Linked DNA regions of Homo sapiens: all the other regions are linked to region 5. Evidence: promoter capture Hi-C in 16 types of primary human blood cells and fetal thymus (Javierre and others, 2016). All regions are on one chromosome and are shown on one strand. Each heading gives the region's core, a stretch centred on a gene start or on the middle of the fragment in contact. The rest is flanking DNA. Distances are from core to core; before and after follow the strand shown. Region 1 has its middle 5.5 kb from the start of CETN1. Region 2 overlaps ENOSF1 (enolase superfamily member 1). Region 3 overlaps CLUL1 (clusterin like 1). Region 4 overlaps YES1 (YES proto-oncogene 1, Src family tyrosine kinase). Region 5 holds the start of THOC1 (THO complex subunit 1). Region 6 overlaps ENOSF1 (enolase superfamily member 1). Region 7 overlaps YES1 (YES proto-oncogene 1, Src family tyrosine kinase).

Region 1 (2,700 bases), core at 99-2,598, 310 kb after region 5:
GTCACTGTTAATCCCTAAATCCACCCTTCACAGGCAGCCCATTTGGCTTATTCTGTGTTACCTAACACCACTGTGGGCTTCTGACCTTTCAACCTCTGGTGAGTGAAAAATTCTCAGTTAACAGCCTCAGAGCCAGCTTTAGATCCTGACGTTCCAGGGCCCTTGGAGAAGAAAAGGTGGATCAAAGAGTAACCAATAGCTCAGTCTATGAGCTATTGGTTTAAAATGAGATTTAAAAATCCAATGAAGCCACTCCTGGGCCTCCTGGTTCTGCATTTTCTGTGGATGCCTGCACCTGGTGGGCGCTCTGAAGACCACTTACAGGGTGGGACAACTGCCGAATTGCAAACCCCATGAGGTTCTGCTTGGAGTTTATGTCAACATAGATCTTGTCTTTTCTCAGCCTGTTTCCATCAAAGCAATGCTTAATTGGGGGCTGATCTGGGATCTGGGAAAGAAGGGGAGAGGGCAGTCATTCTTTCACTGGATGCATTTAATTTTACTCCACCTAACAAGTTCAAAATGCCCTGGAGTTTCATTCTTCCTTCCCTTCCTCCTCACACTTTTCCATCCTTTCCCTTCTTTGACTCCCAAACCCAAATGGGGTATAAGTGGAGCAGATAGGGGTTGGGTAGGGGTGAGAAACATTGTAGATCTTTATTTTATTCACCTCAAGCCCCACATTAAATCCCACATCCGTGTTTGCTAAAACATATAAGGTTCTGCAACCCCGGTCATGTCCTTGGAGACCATTTAAAGTCATAAAATAAGCAATGTGTACTTTTTTGGAATGGTCAGTCATTTAAAACTATCATAGAACCAGCAAATGCACTATGAAACAGAAAGCAACATTCACTTTTTAAAAAGCTGAAACACAGGATTATAAAGACATTTGATGCTTTTTGCAGGTTTCTTTCAAATAGTTCCCTGTATCTCAGGGGATAGCTTTCAACTCTCCTTTGCTATTAGGAATATTTGGGTGAAAGTTTGAGAAACCGTGTGAAATTCTGGCAAATCTTTTTAGAAAAGTCTGCTTTTGTATCTGAGAGGAGTATTTTCTTATTTCGGGTGTTCATGGAATAAGGAATCATGTAGCCCTTGGCTGGACACTTAAATGTGTTCCTGGACTTGCCAAAAAGACTTGGGTTGAGTCACTGGACTTGACTTCAAATTCCCATTCAGAGACCACTGGGACTGTAAAACCTTTTGCTGCTGAGTCCATTTCTTGTAACTGGCTCCACATATTTAAGAATAAATAATTCAGCTCTGTTAGTGATGGTTTTGGGATCCCCCTCTACAGCCCCAGCACAGTTATCCTGGTTTGTAGGAGCAGCACCCAGCATTCACATTTTCTCTGTTCTGCATTTGTTGGAAAGTAAATAAGCAGCAGTAAAGAAGCTGTATTGTGCATGTTTTCTGCCTTGGGTGGCACCTGGAATTTGCTGAATTTGCTGAGTGCAACTTTAAAAGGCTCCTGAGCCGCACCTTTTTCATGCCATGCAAGTCAAATGGAAAACCAAATAATCAGCATAAGCAAGCTGTGAGTCCTTTCTCTTGGTCTCAACGGACTCCAGACCCTGTTGTGGAATTCCAGTGCTTCTTTTCTCCCCTCTTCCAGCTGTTAAGTCTCCATGACTGGACTTAAACAACCATCTCCTCTCCCCCTCTCAGAGAATCAATCACTGATTTTGCATAATACTTAGGACATTGTGGTACAAAAAAAAAAAAAAATTGAGGGCCCCCCAAAAACCCAAAAACAAACAGAAACCCGCCCATCTCCACTGATTTTCTAGGATGTCTCGTTTATTTTATGTCAGTCTCACTAGAACTTAAAAATTACTTTTAAAGTAATAAAGCTGATTTTCACATGCCTTGTATAGACTTTCACTAATGCCAAGCAAAGGCATTTTGCCCAGATTGCTTTCCCCAGCTCATATACAGAGTTGAAAGCAGGGAATGGGGTGAAGTGGAATGGAGGAAGAACAGATGTAAATACTAAGCATATTGCAGGTTCAGTGACTCGCCCCAGAATGGGACCCTGTCTTAGATCCTACAAATTCCTGTTCAATCCTTCTAGGCAAGATGCTTAATTATTGTTATGTGTAGGGAAGAAAATTGTTAGCAGCAGAAGGTATCCGAGTCACGTGGCACCAAAATGTATCACTAGTAGCGAATATCCAAGTTACCTTAATAGAATCCGTATGGGTCTGCAGCAACCTCAATTCCTACATCCTCAGAAGAAAGAATTCAACTCAGGGTCATACGGCAGAAAAAGAGACTGAGGCAAGTTTCAGAGCGTTTATTAAAACGCTTTAGAGCAGGAACATAAGGCAAGTGATACTGGAGACAGAAATTATTTTAAGCAGATAATGAGGGCAAAAGAGTCCTCGGCAGAACTTCCCTGCTAACAAAGAACAGCCCAAGAAATCCCTTCTTTTCTAACAAAGAGCAGCCTGGGAGATCGGGCTGCAAACATAGATAAGGAAGCTGGAAACTTGCACGAGGGGATGCCAGAAGCTGCACAGTTAGAAAGAGGTACCTGGGGCCAGGAATGTCCACCCTGGGGGCTCCACCTCCCCTCTATTTTTAGCACATGCACAGTAAGAAGGAAATAAGCGGCCGGGCCCGGTGGCTCACGCCTGTAATCCCAGCACTCTGGGAGGCCGAGGCAGGCGGATCACAAGGTCAGGAGTTTGAGAC
Region 2 (2,760 bases), core at 180-2,679, 440 kb after region 5:
TGAAACCCTGTCTCTCCTAAAAATACAAAAATTAGCTGGGCATGGTGGCACACATCTGTAGTCCCAGCTACTTGGGAAACTGAGGCAGGAGAATCGTTTGAACCTTGGAGGTGGAGGCTGCAGTGAGCCAAGAATGTGCCACTCCACTCCAGCCTGGGCAACAGAGCGAGACTCTGTCTCTCAAAAAAAAGAAACATTAGCTAGGCATGGTGGCTTGTGCCTGTGGGCCCAGCTACTCGGGAAGGTGAGGTGGGACAATCATTTGAGTCTGGAAGGTCAAGGCTGTATGAGCCGTGATTGCACCACTGCACTCCAGCCTGGGTGACAGAGCAAGACCTTATCTCAAATAAATTAATAAATAATAAAAACTTTAAAAACATAAAAAAAGGATAAAAATGAATATTAATTAAGTAAATTTAATAAAGTCATGATTTAAAAAAATACCCAACCAAAAACTACATTGGTATATTCTATACATTTGAAAAACAACCCTCCCTCTCTGTCTCACACACAAGCACTCTCTTCACAGTAACCCTATTTTTTTAAATCATAAACAGATGATTAGGTAAGTAAGCAGAAGAACCAGGATGAGCTAATGGAATTTTTCATCTTTAGTGTGAGTGCTGTGTAACACATTTAGTGAGACTGCAGTGAGTCACCTGAAATATGTAGCAAGGTTAAAGTTAAAATGGGTTCTGTCATGTTGTGGTCTGAAAAAGGAGGAAGCCAAAACCCTTAGCACAAAAGAGTCATTAATTAAAGTCATGGAGAGATGGAAGTTGATTTATCCGTGCCTGAGACATCCACCAAGACAGCGGTGTGGGGCTGGGAATGGAGGAGGAGAGGGGAAGTGAAGGCCCTAAACACTGAGCTCAGCACCCATCCCAGAAGGGCTTCTTATCTATCTTAGTGCCCAGGGCCCCTCCACGTGTGCCCAAGTCAGCAAAGTTTAAAGTCTGGGCTGTTAACAGAGAGTGGGTCCAATGGCCTAACATTATCTTGTAAGCTCGCTGAGTTTTATGCAACCTTTGGGGGCTGTGCTGTAGGGTTTGCAGTATGGAGAAAGGCAGCGGCTTCATAAAGTACTCAACTTACAAACAAGGGACAATTAGAGTTGCAGAAGAAGCAGAAACAGCTCACAGCTCTGTCTTAGTAAGTGGTTACTACTCTGGGGAAAACTTTAACAGTAAATTGTTTACTTAATGGAGAAAAGCGGGACTGACTCACAGCATGGTCTTTCTCTGCCTGGCAAATTCCTGTTTGCTCTTCGAGACTCACCTCAAAGCATTACTTCTGCTCTGAAGCCTTCCCTGAGCCTTTTGGACAGAGTGAAGTTACCCCCTGAGATGGTTTAGACATTCTGCACAAATTTCATGTTGAAGTGTAATCCGCAGTGTTGGAGGTGGGGCCTGGTGGGAGGTGATTATTAGATCTTGGAGGTGGATTTCTCCTGAATGGTTTAGCACTATCCCATTGGTACTGTCTTTGAGATAGTGAGTGAGTTCTCGTGAGATCTGGTGACTTAAAAGTGTGTAGCACCTCCCCATTCCCTTTCTCTTGATCCTTTCGACATAGGACGTGCCTGCTCCCCCTTCACCTTCTACCATGATTGTAAGTGTCCTGAAGCCTCCCTAGAAGCTGAGTAGCTGGCATCATGCTTTCTGTAAAACCTGCAGAACCATGAGGCAATTAAACCTCTTTTTCTTTATAAATTATCCAGTCTCTCGTACTCCTTTATAGCAATGCAAAAATAGCCTGGCTCAGAGTGGTGGTTCATGCCTATAATCTTAGCACTTTGAGAGGCCAAGGTGGGCAGATCATTTGAAGTCAGGAGACCGGCCTGACCAAACATGGTGAAACCTCATCTTTACTAAAAATATAAAAACTAGCCGGGCGTGGTGGTGTGTGCCTGTAATCCCAGCTACTCGGGAGGCTGAGGCATAAGAATTGCTTGAACCCGGGAGGTGGAGGTTGTAGTGAGCGAGATTGCGCCACTGCACTCCAGGCTGGGCAACAGAGCAAGACTCTTGTTTCCAAAAAGAAAAGAAAAAAAAAAAAAAAAAGAACAGCCTAATATATCCTCTCTCTGTAAAACTTGTACATAGTTTTAAAAAACAGTAATTCTCAGACTGCACTATGATCATTTCTTTTATGTCTACTTCCCCAATAAGTTCGTGTGCTCCTTGTATGTGGGATTCTGTCTTCTGTATCTTTTTTCTTTTTTTTTTTGGGATGGAGTCTCGCTTTTTCACCCAGGCTGGAGTGCAGCGGCGCAATCTCGGCTCACTGCAAACTCCAACTCCCAGGTTCAAGCAATTCTCGTGCTTCAGCCTCCTGAGTAGCTGAGATTACAGCCATGCATCACCACGGCCAGGTAATTTTTGTATTTTTAGTAAAGACAGGGTTTCACCATGTTGACCAGGCTGGTCTTGAACTGCTTGACTCAAGCAATCTGCCCGCCTCAGCCTCCCAAAGTGCTGGGATTACAGGCCTGAATCACCACGCCTGGCCTATCTTTCTCTTTTTAAAATTACTTTGGTGCCTGATACATGGCAGCACTCAGAAGTCTGCAGAAGGACTGACTTGCTGGACAACTGACCGCCAGCCCTGTGAAGAGCAGTAACAGCAGCCACCTGGGCAGTGTCCATTGAAAGTTCAAGGAAGGTTCCCTTGCCATTCGCACATACACACACTCACAAACTCACACACTTCTTTTATATGCTTAACAATTTAAAATCTCTCAATGGGCCAAGATTTTTT
Region 3 (2,700 bases), core at 163-2,662, 350 kb after region 5:
TAATAGCGAACCACGTAGGTAAAAACTCACTTGAGAACATAGACTTTTGGAGGGAAATGCCAGGTGTGGTGGCTCACGCCTGTAATCCCAGCACTTTGGGAGGCCGAGGGGGGCGGATCACCTGAGGTCAGTAGTTCGAGACCAGCCTGACCCACATGGAGAAACTCCATCTCTACTAAAAATACAAAATTAACCGGGCTTGGTGGCGCATGCCTATAATCCCAGCTACTTGGGAAGGCTGAGGCAGGAGAATCACTTGAACCTGGGAGGTGGAGGTTGCGGTGGGCCGAGATCACGCCATTGCACTCCAGCCTGGGCAACAAGAGCAAAACTCCGTCTCAAAAAAAAAAAAAAAAAAAAGAATTTTGGAGGGAAAAAAATCCCTCTAACAGATTCGAATTAATTCTGTGTTTCGAGATGTTTACAAAATGAAGCTTGGACTCTGAGAGGATGTGATCTATCCTCTCCATTGCATTGAGTTTCAAGTACTTCACATGGCGGGCTTTTTTAACTGTCGTGAAGAGTTTAAACCAAATAGGGACTAGAATTTGTTTGTTTTTTTAACTTACATTTCAAGCTTCCTTATGTCTCAGGCACATTAGCATAAGTTGTCTAAAGTCATAAGGAAAAATTGACAGAAAAATGCTTTGGAGCCCCAGGTGTTTTCAATTGATGCCAACAGAAACTAACCAAATGGAAGACATTTGATGCGGGTTTATTTTTCCTTTGCAGTAACAGCGGGAACATGAAGCCGCCACTCTTGGTGTTTATTGTGTGTCTGCTGTGGTTGAAAGACAGTCACTGCGCACCCACTTGGAAGGACAAAACTGCTATCAGTGAAAACCTGAAGAGTACGTTTGGTTTCTTATCTGTGCTGTGTCCTGTTTGCATGTTGGTTGTCCTGCTGGCGTTTATAGTGAGTCGCAGTTGAGAGATAACCATATTCGCTGTTTTCACGGTGAAACGTTCTCAAGGCGCTTAAACCAGGTCATCCTGACGCCAAACATCTGGGTAAAAATAGAAAATTCCAATCACGTCTCTGCAGGCGTTCACCTTTCCAGATGTTTGTATCATGTAGATACAACTTGCCAGTTTTTTCACTGCATTTTTTTGTATCATCCAGATGGTTGGTGTCATCTCAGCACAGCTCTAATGAACAGTGAAATACTTTTCTAGCATTTGAAAAATTTAAACCATTAGAGTAATCTGTGCAATTGTTCTTAAACTAGTGAAAGAATGGGTTATAATTACGTTGAATCTGGTTGTTCTGTGGCCATTAACTTGCAACTTTGCTTGGTGATATATACTTTGGGTACTTAATATATAGAAGAACAAATTAGCTAAAATGCAGCTGATTTGGGGTCTGTAATAATCAGAGTCAAGAATGAGCTCCTCAGTAGGCCACGTTGGCTATTTTGAACAGGGAATGACAATGAATTTTAAACTTACTAAGGGCTTATTAAAGGTGTATAAGACACGTCCATTGAGTTATTAAGGAAGCTCGTATTACATGGGATACTTTCTAGGTCTCGTGCCTCCTTATTAGGTAACTGAAGCTGAAAGAAAGAGAAATTGCTGACTGTGTTTGAGGTCCCCAGCTGGGCACTTAATATAAATTATGAAGAAAATGCAAAATTTTCTCTAATATAAACACACTTGAGTCTTAAATGAAAGAAAAAAAATGGATAAATGAAAACAGGGCCTGAGCAAGATGACAAGAATGAGGTTCAGTGAACTCTATTTGTTTAGGCGCTCACAAGTGAGGAGTAGAAGGTATGGTCCGTGTGGCAGCTGGGTCCATGTGGCAGCTGACAGCTAATTCATTATGATCTGCTTTCAGAATATGAGCCTATAAGAGAACAATTAAGCCTCTCTTTTGGAGACATGAAAGGTTGGTGAACTTGGTGTTTTGTAATCTGATCAGATCTCAAAGAAAAAATTGCCACATGTCTTTTAGGTTTTTCTGAGGTGGGGGAGATAGATGCAGATGAAGAGGTGAAGAAGGCTTTGACTGGTATTAAGCAAATGAAAATCATGATGGAAAGAAAAGAGAAGGAACACACCAATCTAATGAGCACCCTGAAGAAATGCAGAGAAGAAAAGCAGGTACAGTCATTGAAAATAATGTCTGTTCTTACACAGATCTGGACCAGAAATACTGCACTTGTTAGTGCGATTGATGAATTACTTATTTTCCTTAGTAATAAATTTCATGGGTAGCTGCTTTTATTTGAGGAAAAGTTTAAGGGAAGCTTCAGATTTCCTTGAAGAACATATTTCGTGTAGGATAGGCTTCTGCAAGACTCCAACCCGGAATCTGGGGGATTCATCTCTGTTTAAGTGCTGCTTTCTCAAAAATAGATTATTCTTGGTCTCTTCTGAGTTAGGATATTGAGTCAAAAGTATTTGAAGAGTTTTTTTTTTTACTAGATCAGTGGTCTCCAGAGTTTTTGTTTTTTGTTTTTTGTTTGTTTCTGTTTTTGAGACAGAGTCTCGCTCTGTCACCCAGGCTGGAGTTGATCCCGCTCATTGCAACCTCCACCTCCTGGGTTCAGGTGATTCTCCTGTCTCAGCCTCCCTAGTAGCTGGGATTACAGGCTCCTACCACCACGCCTGGCTAATTTTTGTATTTTTAGAAGAGACGGGGTTTCACCATGCTGGCCAGGCTGGTCCCGAACTCTGGGGCTCAAGTGATCCACC
Region 4 (2,764 bases), core at 176-2,675, 450 kb after region 5:
GGCCGAAGCGGACGGATCACGAGGTCAGGAGATCGAGACCATCCTGGCTAACATGGTGAAACCCCGTCTCTACTAAAAAATACAAAAAATTAGCCGGGCGTGGTAGCAGGCGCCTGTAGTCCCAGCTACTCGGGTGGCCGAGGCAGGAGAATGGCGTGACCCCGGGAGGCGGAGCTTGCAGTGAGCCAAGATCGCGCCACTGCACTCCAGCCTGGGCGACAGAGCGAGACTCCGTCTCAAAAAAAAAACAAAACAAAACAAAAAAAAAAGAAAATTGACCACAAAGAATGAGTTCAATAATGTTCTGAATTTAATAAAGGATTGATTAAATTCTGCTCAGTAGTTACAAGTAACTGAACATTTTTTTCTCAATGGAAGAATAAATTCAGAATATATCAGTTTTTAAAAAACGAATGAGAATATGAATAGCAACTAAAACGATTAATAGGTGCATTCAATGAGAACTTTTTATTTCAATTATCCACAAAACAATATTACAATACTTTATAAAAATATTAAGTTTAGGCTACCATTATTCATTTAAAAAAGTGTGCTAGAAGGCTGTTTTTGCCAACTTCCTTTTTTGGTAAGGGTTAACTTCCACATTAAGACACTGAAGACGAAAAGCTGTTGGAAAATATCTCCAAATTTACAAAGTTGTTTTTCTTGGCAATTTAAAAATACAGAACAATTTAAAATGAATACACATTAAGTTAGTGTTTTATCCCTACTATACAATTGTTATTATATAAGGAACTGCTCCATTCAGTTAAAACCTAATGAATACCATCAACTTTTCCTGCCTTACTTTCCTGATTAGATTTAGTACATAAACGTAATTTTGTCACCCTTTTGAATATGCTTAGAAAAATTACAATATCATAGTTCACATAAAGCCCTTAAAAAATCTCATGTCACAAGTTGTTGATAAGAGGAAATAATGACAGCACTCTTCTTAGGAAGACCCTCTTGGTAGAGAGTGTCAATACTAAGCAGGTTACGTAAACAGAAAAAACAACCACAATTTTTAGTACCAGAACCACTGCCAACTTGCATGAAGTCCATCTTCACATTTTAAAAATGGTTTGAATTTGAACATATATGCCATGGCACAGAATTTCGAATCTGATGATTAAAATCAGGTAAATAATGATAGTTAAGAATTATATCCTGAAAATAGAGGGGCCTAATATAAGGCTTAATTTAAAGTGTGACTATATGAGAGTATTTTAAAACATATACACCAGACCTTCATTTTATTCATCAATTTTTCCTTTGCTAGACACTCAAACCACTAATGCTGCTATTCAAATCTGTATTTTGAAATTACTGAGTTACTCTTAAAAATTAGTCTTATTTTGTATGTTTCACTTTTGCACTTTAGGGTAAAAACTGTCCCCTTTTCACCACCGTTAATATTCAGAATAAGTTTTCCTCCCCAAATCAACCATTTAATGTATTCTAAAAGGGAAAAAATGACCACCATTACATAGACTTTAGAAGTGAATGTAGGCTGGGCGCGGTGGCTCACGCCTGTAATCCCAGCACTTTGGGAGGCCGAGGCGGGCAGATCACAAGGTCAGGAGATCGAGACTATCCTGGCTAACACGGTGAAACTGCGTCTCTACTAAAAATACAAAAAACTAGCCAGGCGTGGTGGTGGGCACCTGTAGTCCCAGCTACTCGGGAGGCTGAGGCAGGAGAATGGTGTGAACCTGGGAGGCAGAGCTTGCAGTGAGCCGAGATCGCGCCACTGCACTCCAGCCTGGGCGACAGAGCGAGACTCCGTCTCAAAAAAGAAAACAAAAAAAAGTGAATGTAGATTCAAACATGATTTGAAAACTGGAGTTCTAAAAATGTTTTACATAAAAACCATATCCCACTGCAATGAATGTGAAGCCATAACTTCATTATTTTGAACAAATACCCATTTAGTGTGTAAGAAAAATTAGTTTTATAGTTATACTTTATAACTCTTCAAAGTCTCAGAATATAGCTAAGTGAGGAGCTCTGAGTGCCAGCAAAGCCATTCTGTCACTCCATGACATCAACATTAAACATTACCTTCCATCCCTCTAACTTGTAAAACTTTCACTTTCTTTTCTCGTATTTCTTTTAAATACATTTTCCTCTCTGTTCATCTATATTCACCATGAGCAAAAGTGCATTCAAGTCCCTGATCTGGTCATATTTTCTATTTGTGGCACCCATCCCCATAAGGACATATAAGCAATACTCACAGTACGAAGTCTAGTTTTTAAAAAGGGCTTTTAAAATGCTGGGTCTTACTTTGCATGCTATCTAAAGATCAAAACATTTCCCCTTTGATTGGACAGTAGTTTCAATTATATATTGCCTTAAAAAATCAATGCAACCTCATACAAGATTAACTCACTTTCTAGTTACCTTCATTATTCTAAGTCAAACTCTTCAGAAAAGGACTGAAGTGAAAAAGTTCTTATTCTTTCAGTTCCATGAACATGAATATTAATGTACTGCATTATACTTTCAAATTCCACTTCTGTGGTCTAACATTTAATCAAGTTTGAGATCCTGTTTATATTCCTTTTGAAAAACCTGGCCCATGTCCATGCAAAAGAAAGCATATATTAAGATTGCATACTGACTGTTTAACTTAGAAAAAACTTTTGAGAATAATAAATGCAAGAAACTTTAAAAAACTGGAATGGAATTATTTGGTCCCATGATATTCCTTAATTTTAGATTTTATTATGGTATAGCTTTTTATCTCTCAAGTTTTATC
Region 5 (2,749 bases), core at 68-2,567:
CTTTGCCATGTTGGCCAGGCTGGCCTTGAACTCTTGACCTCAGGTGATCCGCCCGCCTCGGCCTCCCGAAGTACTGCATTTACAGGCGTGAGCCACTGCGCCCGGCCGCCAATATGATCTTGGATAGTCCTAACAGTTACTCTTAGCAGGCTTTCAAAGCACCAGAGATTGCAGCAAAACGCACACAAAGAAAATGATTATGATGACATACACAAAATATAATCCATTTAAAAAAAACCTCACACTGTGTGTGTGTGTATATATATATTATACGTATACGTATATATATGTATATATATATATATATAACCCTGCAAACAAGAAAACTACTTACTACAAAGGATGAATTTTTCTTTCACACAATTTTCATCCTGGCATCCCTATAACTACCAAAACACAGCCGAATATCTGAGAAATGTTGGTGCAAATGCTAGAGACGAATAGAGTCAGGCAACTTAAAAGTGTTCTTCATACTTACGTTGCTGTGACGAGCAACATAAAAAGAACAGAGTGTCTAAAGTCAGAAAAACCACTGAAGTCACAACTTTTTGGGGGGTGTCAGCTTCTACCTCATGTACCAGGAATAACCAACTTAGCCTACTTCACAGTGTTACTCTAATAGTTAAATGAGAAAGTGATCTGTCAAGTGTTTCCCAAATGCTCAAAACCACCCTTCCACATTGAGCAAGAATAAAATAGCATCTGGTTACCCTTCCCAAGGTGATCTATCTGCCTTTTCCCGCTTAGGATCTCATCGATCGCTTAGGAGTTAGACACGGTGGGTTAAGGGGTGGTGAAGAGACGGCGGGAACAAGCACTTGGTAGCTCAGAAGGCTAGGGCGGGAGCCAGGTCTTTGGACTGAAACCACTCCCACCCTCCCCCTTCAGCAGCTCCCCTTCCCCTTCTCGAGACACCTGCCCCACTAAACGAGCTGAGAGGATGGACCCAACCAGCAGTAGTCTGCAGGTGGGCACTCCAAGCGGGGAGCCGAGGCGCCCAGCACGCAGTCCGGGGACCCGCTGGAGGGTGGGCGGAGGCGGACGGCCCAGCCCACAAAGAAGAGGCGGGTAGTGCGTCTTTCCCTACCCCTCAACCTCCGACGGGGCCCGGAGCGGACGCTGAGGCGGACACACCTCTGTCTCACTTTACCCCAGGGCAAAATTCGAGTAATTTCAGGGAGAAGAGGACAAAGCATAGCGCCGGGTCAGGCCTGCACCCTCCCCTCTACAGCTCACCGTAAACCGCGTCCGCGCTTCGGGCAAACTGAAGAGCGGCGGCGTCGGAGACATCTTCTCGGCTGCGCGTGCCCGCCACTGCGCTGCGGCGCCTGCCGATGACGTCAAGCCAGGAGCAACGAGACTGCGGTCTCTCTGAGCCCGGCTAGAGTGGCCTGTGAACACCGGTCGGGCGAGCTGGCAGTTGGGAGTTTCCCTAGCGACTCAGTTCGGGTGGGCGTTGGGCGCCTGAGTCAGCCAAACAGCCTACTCGGGGTTCTTGGGTAGCCTTTGGGGTGAGGGGACTTGGGCGGCCTTGGTCTGTAAGCTCTGCGTTCCCGGGCGTGGAAGAGACTGGCCGCGCACATGCGTTTCTGTGGTTTTCCTGGTTTGGGGAAAGCGGGTAAATGGTGGCTGGTTGCGGCTAACTGGGCCGCGCTAAAAGGTAACCCAAGGCAGGTGGATTACCTGGGGAAACAGCTGGAGCAGTGGTCCTGGGCCGCCAGTCCGCGGTCATCCCGGGAGCTTAAGATGCGGAGTGGTGATAGGCTCCGGATGTATGAGCCCTGTGGCTCAAGGGCGCTGTTCTCTCTGCTCCGAAATAGAAATAATACCTGTCTCACAGAGCTGTTGAAAAGCTCCACTGAAATAATGACCGCAAGTGTGAACTGTAAAGCAATGTAAGTAGTATTTATTATTAAAAGGTCTCTACTGAAAGAAAGAGACCTAGGAGGAATGCAGTGCCCGGCGCTGATTGGAAAACGGGTGGCGCTGCGTCCTGGGCCGAGGCTTCCCTAGCGAAAACCTTGTCTCCCTCCATTTCGTCCCTTGCCTGCCTTCCCAGGAGAGACGTGGCCGATAGAAGCCGAGTGGCAGTAACTCTAAGTTGGAGTTACACGGTGGAGAAGGAAGCACTGACTCAGACTCGGGTAACTTCCTCTTATTCCCTCACACGTGTATCTTGTTCCCTTCTTCGAAGTCTGTAAATTTAAAATCCTAAGCCCCCCAACAACTGAACAGACCCCCGTGAGGCCAAGGGGACACCAGCAAAATCTTAACAACTGAGTTCCCAGTCATAACGGGATGGGAGGTCAGACGGACCTGGTTATACCCTCTCCCTTTTGTGATTTAGAGGAGATAGCTGACTGGCCATAAAGTTAAAATAGAGGCCAGGCGCGGTGGCTTACGCCTGTAATCCCAGCACTTTGGGACGCCGAAGCAGGTGGGTCACCTGAGGTCAGGAGTGGATCACCTGAGGTATGGCAAACATGGTGAAACGCTGTCTCTACTAAAAATACAAAAATTAGCCGGGCGTGGTGGCACGCACCTGTAATCCCAGCTACTCAGGAGGCCGAGGCAGGAGAATGGTTTGAACCCGGCAGGCGGAGGTTGCAGTGAGCGGAGATCGTGCCATTGCACTCCAGCCTGGGCGACAAGAGTGAAACTCTGTTTCAAAAAAAAAAACGGAGATGATAGGACTGACGGAATTGACTCCATGGCAATAAGATACCAAAGTATAAACAGGACCTAAGCC
Region 6 (2,700 bases), core at 155-2,654, 410 kb after region 5:
AGGAACTAAAAGGAAATCGTTTCTATTTAATACCAAGAGTAGGGCAGGGAGAGGAAGGGGTGAAAGGGAACTTTCTGGTTTTTCTTATTGCCCACAGGTGATTAAATCATTTATTAATATTTAGGAAGGAAATTCCAAGATGAAAATCATCAAAAATTCCCGGATTAAAGCTAAATGAGAGTTAGAAAAAAATCGAAATGGCAAACTACAGACTCCCATGCATGTGAATTGCAAACCATCAAGGGAGGTGTCTGATTAGTGGGGAAATGAAGGTCTGGTCTGCAGCCGCTGCAGCACGCTTACTTTCAAACTTTTTGGCCATCAGCAATACTGAGAGGTTCTCATTGACACTGCCCAGTCTGCAACTGTCAATCTGGAGGAACTGCAGGGCCTTCGCCTGTAGGAGTTGCTTAAATATCACTCTATTGTGGCACTGGAAATAGAATTGAAAATAACACCAACAGAAGAGTCAGCCTTGGCCTTCAGGATCTCTAAACCTGGCAACGCAGCCACTCTATGCCAATAATTATTCATCAGTGGCCGTCAGGAAGCCCAGACTGTATTTCTTCTTTGTTCTCGCTGGGCATGAGGCGAGCTTTTATAGCGTGGGCAGGGACCTTGTGCTCACTTCTTTACAAATCTGCTAATGCAACAGTGTGAGTCAGGTCAAAATCACACTGGCTCGCCATTTATGAGGGAATGACTGTCACAGCGACTGATAAGTGGGAGATGAAGCATCAGGATGAAATACGGTGACAGTGATGAGCAGGTGGCACAGATGACAACACGGAACCACGGCAGAGCAGTATTGCTCCTTTTGCCGGGAAAACTGAGAATCAGCTCCTCACGCTGCTCTGCTCGTGGGCTGACTGCAGCAGGTTTTGGCAGGCACTCGGGCTTCATTTATAAGCTCAAAAAGTGAACGCAGTCATGTTTATTCAATTTGAAAGCTGGCTTTCTTAAGACCATTTTCTGCCCTTGCAATAGCAACTTTAAATTGCTGCCTTTTCAATTTCAATTAGACACTTTGAAAAAGATACCCGACCTTAGTCATATAAATTGGAGAAATAGCCACAAACTTTTTCTATATCTGACTCTAGACTCTGATAAAATGACCCAGTTTCTAAGATGATGAAAATTTCCCAACTCAAAGTACAGCAGGTGATGGAGCCTAACACACAACTGTGTCCTCGGTCACTGGTCAGCGTGTACTGACCCCAAGGGGACGTCATCCACCTGTTGGGGGCGTCACTCACCTGTTCTCCTGTGGCAATGCCAATTCCTAATGGGACCAGTGCCTATAAAATAGAAGGCAGCCTGGTGTTATTTTCCTAAGTTTTGAACTGCAACTCCTAATGTTTAAAAACATTTATAGCTGAAGGAGGAAACGGCCCTGCTGTTAAGCCATGTGAAGGCTCAAGACTGGCAAAGGATGTCCAGGGGAACACATGCGTGCGGGAGGGCTCTGTGTATCTGCAGAGGAGAAGGTGAGCACTGCTGAGCTGCCACCACCAGCCCCGTTCCTGACCAGGGCTCTGCAGATCTCCTTCTGCGGTGTCCCGGCCCATGCTCCAGCTGCGCTCCTCCCAACGTGGACAGCACCTCCCTCTCCAGCCTGCGCAGTGGCATAAGGACAGGGCTATTCGGAGTGGCTCATTGTGGACTCACAGGGTCCAACCTTTGGACGACTCCTTCCTGTGGGTCATCACTCCATCAATTCCCTTCTTCTTGCCTCCCTGAGAAACCTCCTTCTAGAACCCTCTCATATCTTTTTTTTTTTTTTTTTTTGAGACCGAGTCTTGCTCTGTCACCCAAGCTGGAGTGCAGTGGCATGATCTTAGCTCACCGCAACCTCCACCCCCCAGGCTGAAGCGATTCTCGTGCCTCAGCCTCCTGAGTAGCTGGGATTAGAGGTGCACGCCACCATGCTGGCTAATTTTTGTATTTTTAATAGAGTCAGGGTTTTGCCATGTTGGCCAGGCTGGTCTCAAACTCCTGACCTCAGATGATCCTCCCGCCTCGGCCTCCCAAAGTGTTGGGATTACAGGTGTGAGCCACTGCACCTGGCCTCATGTCTTTGTTGATTCCAAAATCCTCTTCCTTAAGGCAGGAAAAATCCATGAAAAAAAAAAAAATCCTCTTCCTTCCAGCTCAGTGGGTGGCCTCAGACCTCAATCTGCAGGTTAGGCTGAGACCATTGCTCACCTGGTAGAGTCCTCACCTGGTGAGGTACTGGACTCTGCACCTGAACACAGCCCTGCTGCTCTCTGTCCTCTCACCTGGCCCCTGAACACTACCTCCGTCACCTGCCACCTGGACTCTGGGCGCTCCCATCCATCCTCTACTGTGACTGCGACTCCACAGCTACTCCGCACAGGTAGCCTTGGTTCCTCCCTGGCTTCCCTTCCCTTTGCTTAGGGTAATAGTAATCACACTGACAGCTAACATTTTTGGAGCTCTGAGTACCTGTCAGGTGCTGTGCAAAACACTGACTTAAATGATTCCTGGTCTCAATCCAATGGGAGAGGAGCCAGCGTTATCCCCATTTTATAAAAAATGATAAAACTGTGTGCCGGGTTTGAACTGTTCCTGGATCACAAAGCTAGAAAGTGGTAGAGACTGGGTTGGAACTCCACTGATTCCAGAGCCAGAGGAGGCATCTGAATAATCAGACTAAGCCAACTTCTCAGCAGAAAAATC
Region 7 (2,932 bases), core at 302-2,801, 470 kb after region 5:
ACTGCACTCCAGCCTGGGAAACAGAGCGAGACTCAGCCTCAAAAAAAATAAAACCTAACATTACTCTGAAGACCAAGATTAACCCTCCTAATGTCTTCTTGTGTCTGTGGTTAGGAGAAGAGGTAAATCACAAGGTAATTTAGTACCTCTGGATACAAGCTCATCAAGGTCTCTATCAGGCACAACCTAAGATGACATGGTGATAAAGGTATTAACCACAAGGTATAGGTTCCCAAACTACAGCTTGTAGGCCAAAAGTGGCCTGCAGCCTGTTTTTGCACAGCCAGAGAACTAAAACTGTTTTTTACATTTTGATTGATTGACTGAGACGGGGTCTCACTCTGTCACGCAGGTTGGCGTGCAGTGGTGCAATCGTGGCTCACTGCAATCTCTATCTTCTGGGCTCAAGCAATTTTCCCACCTCAGCCTAGTGAGTAGCTGGGACTTAGGCATGCGACACCACACCCAGCTAATGTTTGTATTTTTTTGTAGAGATGGGGTTTCACTATGTTGCCCAGGCCCCGCAAAGCGAGATTATAGGAGCCATCTCGCACAGCCTGGTTTTTACATTTTTAAAGGGTTGTAAAAAGAAAAAAGTATGACAGATTGGATGTGGCTCACAAAACCTAATTTTTTTTTTTTTTTAAAAAACAAAAATGGATTGCCAACCTCCCCTACCATAGAGTGTCTAACTCAGAAGCATGAACTGGCGTGGCATATGCCTGTTGCCTATGTATAGTTTCTCAGTATAAAGCTTTTCTGAATTGTCAGATTCTGTGGACATTTGGAGGCTAGGAGGTAAGATTCCAAAACCAGCATGTCAACCAAAGCCAATAATAAGGCCTCTCAAATACCTACCACATATCTGAAGAGAAACTTTTAACAGTTTTCACTATATATTTAAAACAAAAAGTCAGAAGAGTAAAAAAGTCCCATTTTAAACTGTATATATACCATCTTAATTCTTGTGTTGGACTATAGTAAATAACAAATTCAGGCCAGGTGCAGTGGCTCACGCCTGTAATCCCAGCACTTTGGGAGGCCGAGGCGGGCAGATCACGAGGTCAGGAGATCAAGACCATCCTGGCGAACACGGTGAAACCCCGTCCCTACTAAAAATACAAAAGATTGGCTGGGGGTGGTGGTGGGCGCCTGTAGTCCCAGTTACTCGGGAGGCTGAGGCGGGAGAATTGTGTGAACCTGGGAGATGGAGCTTGCAGTGAGCCGAGATTGCACCACTGCATTCCAGCCTGGGTGACAGAGCGAGACTCCCATCTCAAAAAAAAAAAAAAAAAAAAAATTCAGCATACACTTTAGATTACTAATATTTTCTTTGGAACAGCCCTCATCCATTTTAATTTTCTTAAAATTATCTGTTGAAATATAAATACATATAGACTTTACATTTGTGGAAACATCTATTTTCTTGAGATGGAGTCTCGCTCTTGTTGCTCAGGCTGGAGTGCAATGGCGAGATCTTGGCTCACTCCAACCTCCGCCTCCCGGGTTCAAGCGATTCTCCTGCCTCAGCCTCCTGAGTAGCTGGGATTACAGGCGCCCGCCACCACGCCTGGCTAATTTTCAGTATTTTTAGTAGAGACAGAGTTTCACCATGTTGGCCAGGCTGGTCTCGAACTCCTGACCTCAAGTGACCCACCCACCTCGGCCTCTCAAAGTGCTCAGATTACAAGCGTGAGCCACCGCACCTGGCCTGGAAACATCTATTTTCTAAGAAACCGTATGATACAGGACACCACTGGACTAAGAGTTAGATAGCTGGTTCTAATACTCGTTCTGTTACTAACAAGTTTTGTGAATTTTAGATACCTCTCATCTTTTGATACTTCATTAATCTGTATCATTAAGAGCTCACATTGGATTATCTCTGACGTTCCTGCCAGTTCTAAAATTCCATTATTGGCCAGGTAATCCCAATACTTTGGGAGGCTGAGGTGGGAGGATCCTTTGAGCCAAGGACTTTGAGACTAGCCTAAGCAACACAGAGAGATCCCTGTGTCTACAAAAAAAATAATTTTTTAAATTAGCTGGGAATGGTGGCCTGTGCCTGCAGTCCTAGCTACCCAGGAGGCTGAGGCGAGAGGATTGCTAGAGCCCAAGAATTCAAGGCTCTTCAAGCACGGAGCTATCAGTGCACCACTGCATTCCACCCTGGGTGACAGAATGAGACGCTGTCTCTAAAAAATAAAAAATAAAAATAAAATCCCACCATTTCACTACACATACTATAATATTCTGGTAAGATTATTCCACATTTTAATTTACACTTTTAATTCAAATGGATACATGTATATATACAGATACCTGAGCAGCCATATCAACCAGCTGTGGAAGCTTCAAATACTTTCCATCTCCTTCCTTAAGGAAATCTAATAAGCTTCCTGTAACAGACAGCAAGATATTCATAAAAAATAAGCAAATCTTATATTAGGATTGAAATGAATACTCCTCCACCCCAAATCACAACACAAAACTTCTTAGCTTTTCATTTTTTTTAAATTTTGTGCAGTTTTGCAGTTTCCAAATAATTATCTAGGTCCTAGAAGAGGTCTCTAAGCTGAAATTTTGAAAACTTCTGATAACACATGCAAAAAAAGAAAATGCATTAACTTTACCTGACAAGAGGCATTTTTTCCTCGCTTTGATCAATATCCCAATTCTGATTCAAAAAGTAGTATTAAATACTTACATATTTTTAAGTAAATCTGAATCAAGAATTCAGACAACTAGGAATATCTTGGGTGTGGTTAAAACTAAATATAGGTAGCTAAATGAGTCGCTGTGGAACTACTGCTGTGACCAAGCTCTCTCTCTGAAAACTACAAAGTACTATGAATAACAGCAAAGAAAAAGGCTAGAAGTCTGATTACGGCTTCACTATTATTTGTTAAGGCTTATAATCAAGAGAAAACAT

The links. The method cuts DNA at HindIII sites, captures the fragments that hold promoters and counts their contacts. A CHiCAGO score of 5 or more calls a contact.
Region 1: a fragment that was not itself captured here is called in contact with the fragment with the promoter of THOC1 in region 5 in 2 of 17 cell types (M2 macrophages and M1 macrophages); the score reaches 6.9 in M2 macrophages.
Region 2: a fragment that was not itself captured here is called in contact with the fragment with the promoter of THOC1 in region 5 in 2 of 17 cell types (naive CD8 T cells and naive CD4 T cells); the score reaches 6.7 in naive CD8 T cells.
Region 3: a fragment that was not itself captured here is called in contact with the fragment with the promoter of THOC1 in region 5 in 14 of 17 cell types (M2 macrophages, M1 macrophages, megakaryocytes and 11 more); the score reaches 36.4 in M2 macrophages.
Region 4: a fragment that was not itself captured here is called in contact with the fragment with the promoter of THOC1 in region 5 in 3 of 17 cell types (total CD4 T cells, M2 macrophages and monocytes); the score reaches 6.6 in total CD4 T cells.
Region 6: a contact is called between a fragment that was not itself captured here and the fragment with the promoter of THOC1 in region 5, in 1 of 17 cell types (M2 macrophages). The highest score is 5.5, in M2 macrophages.
Region 7: a fragment that was not itself captured here is called in contact with the fragment with the promoter of THOC1 in region 5 in 3 of 17 cell types (endothelial precursors, naive CD8 T cells and megakaryocytes); the score reaches 5.4 in endothelial precursors.

Annotation. Positions count from the first base shown.
Region 1 is chr18:573,522-576,221 of GRCh38, forward strand. No RefSeq gene overlaps it. Among named protein-coding and RNA genes, the nearest start is that of CETN1, 5.5 kb to the right of the region's middle. The HindIII fragment of the contact is 5,186 bases long and covers 1-2,700 here.
Region 2 is chr18:702,395-705,154 of GRCh38, forward strand. All of the region lies in intron 2 of ENOSF1 (enolase superfamily member 1), which reads right to left. Among named protein-coding and RNA genes, the nearest start is that of ENOSF1, 8.9 kb to the right of the region's middle. The HindIII fragment of the contact is 7,432 bases long and covers 1-2,760 here.
Region 3 is chr18:617,256-619,955 of GRCh38, forward strand. CLUL1 (clusterin like 1) reads left to right here. Exons shown (of 10, transcript NM_001393344.1): 3 at 733-851; 4 at 1,958-2,106. The coding sequence starts at 746. Among named protein-coding and RNA genes, the nearest start is that of CLUL1, 22 kb to the left of the region's middle. The HindIII fragment of the contact is 1,675 bases long and covers 576-2,250 here.
Region 4 is chr18:721,300-724,063 of GRCh38, forward strand. It overlaps YES1 (YES proto-oncogene 1, Src family tyrosine kinase), which reads right to left. Exons shown (of 12, transcript NM_005433.4): 12 at 289-2,764. Among named protein-coding and RNA genes, the nearest start is that of ENOSF1, 10 kb to the left of the region's middle. The HindIII fragment of the contact is 6,786 bases long and covers 1-2,764 here.
Region 5 is chr18:266,730-269,478 of GRCh38, forward strand. It overlaps THOC1 (THO complex subunit 1), which reads right to left and starts at 1,318. Exons shown (of 21, transcript NM_005131.3): 1 at 1,237-1,318. The coding sequence starts at 1,290. RefSeq lists an enhancer at 1,187-1,656 and a silencer at 2,047-2,226. The HindIII fragment of the contact is 5,170 bases long and covers 1-2,749 here.
Region 6 is chr18:677,440-680,139 of GRCh38, forward strand. ENOSF1 (enolase superfamily member 1) reads right to left here. Exons shown (of 16, transcript NM_017512.7): 12 at 1,257-1,298; 13 at 304-433; 14 at 1-5. Among named protein-coding and RNA genes, the nearest start is that of TYMSOS, 20 kb to the left of the region's middle. The HindIII fragment of the contact is 7,224 bases long and covers 1-2,700 here.
Region 7 is chr18:737,413-740,344 of GRCh38, forward strand. It overlaps YES1 (YES proto-oncogene 1, Src family tyrosine kinase), which reads right to left. Exons shown (of 12, transcript NM_005433.4): 9 at 2,323-2,399. Among named protein-coding and RNA genes, the nearest start is that of ENOSF1, 26 kb to the left of the region's middle. The HindIII fragment of the contact is 1,598 bases long and covers 753-2,350 here.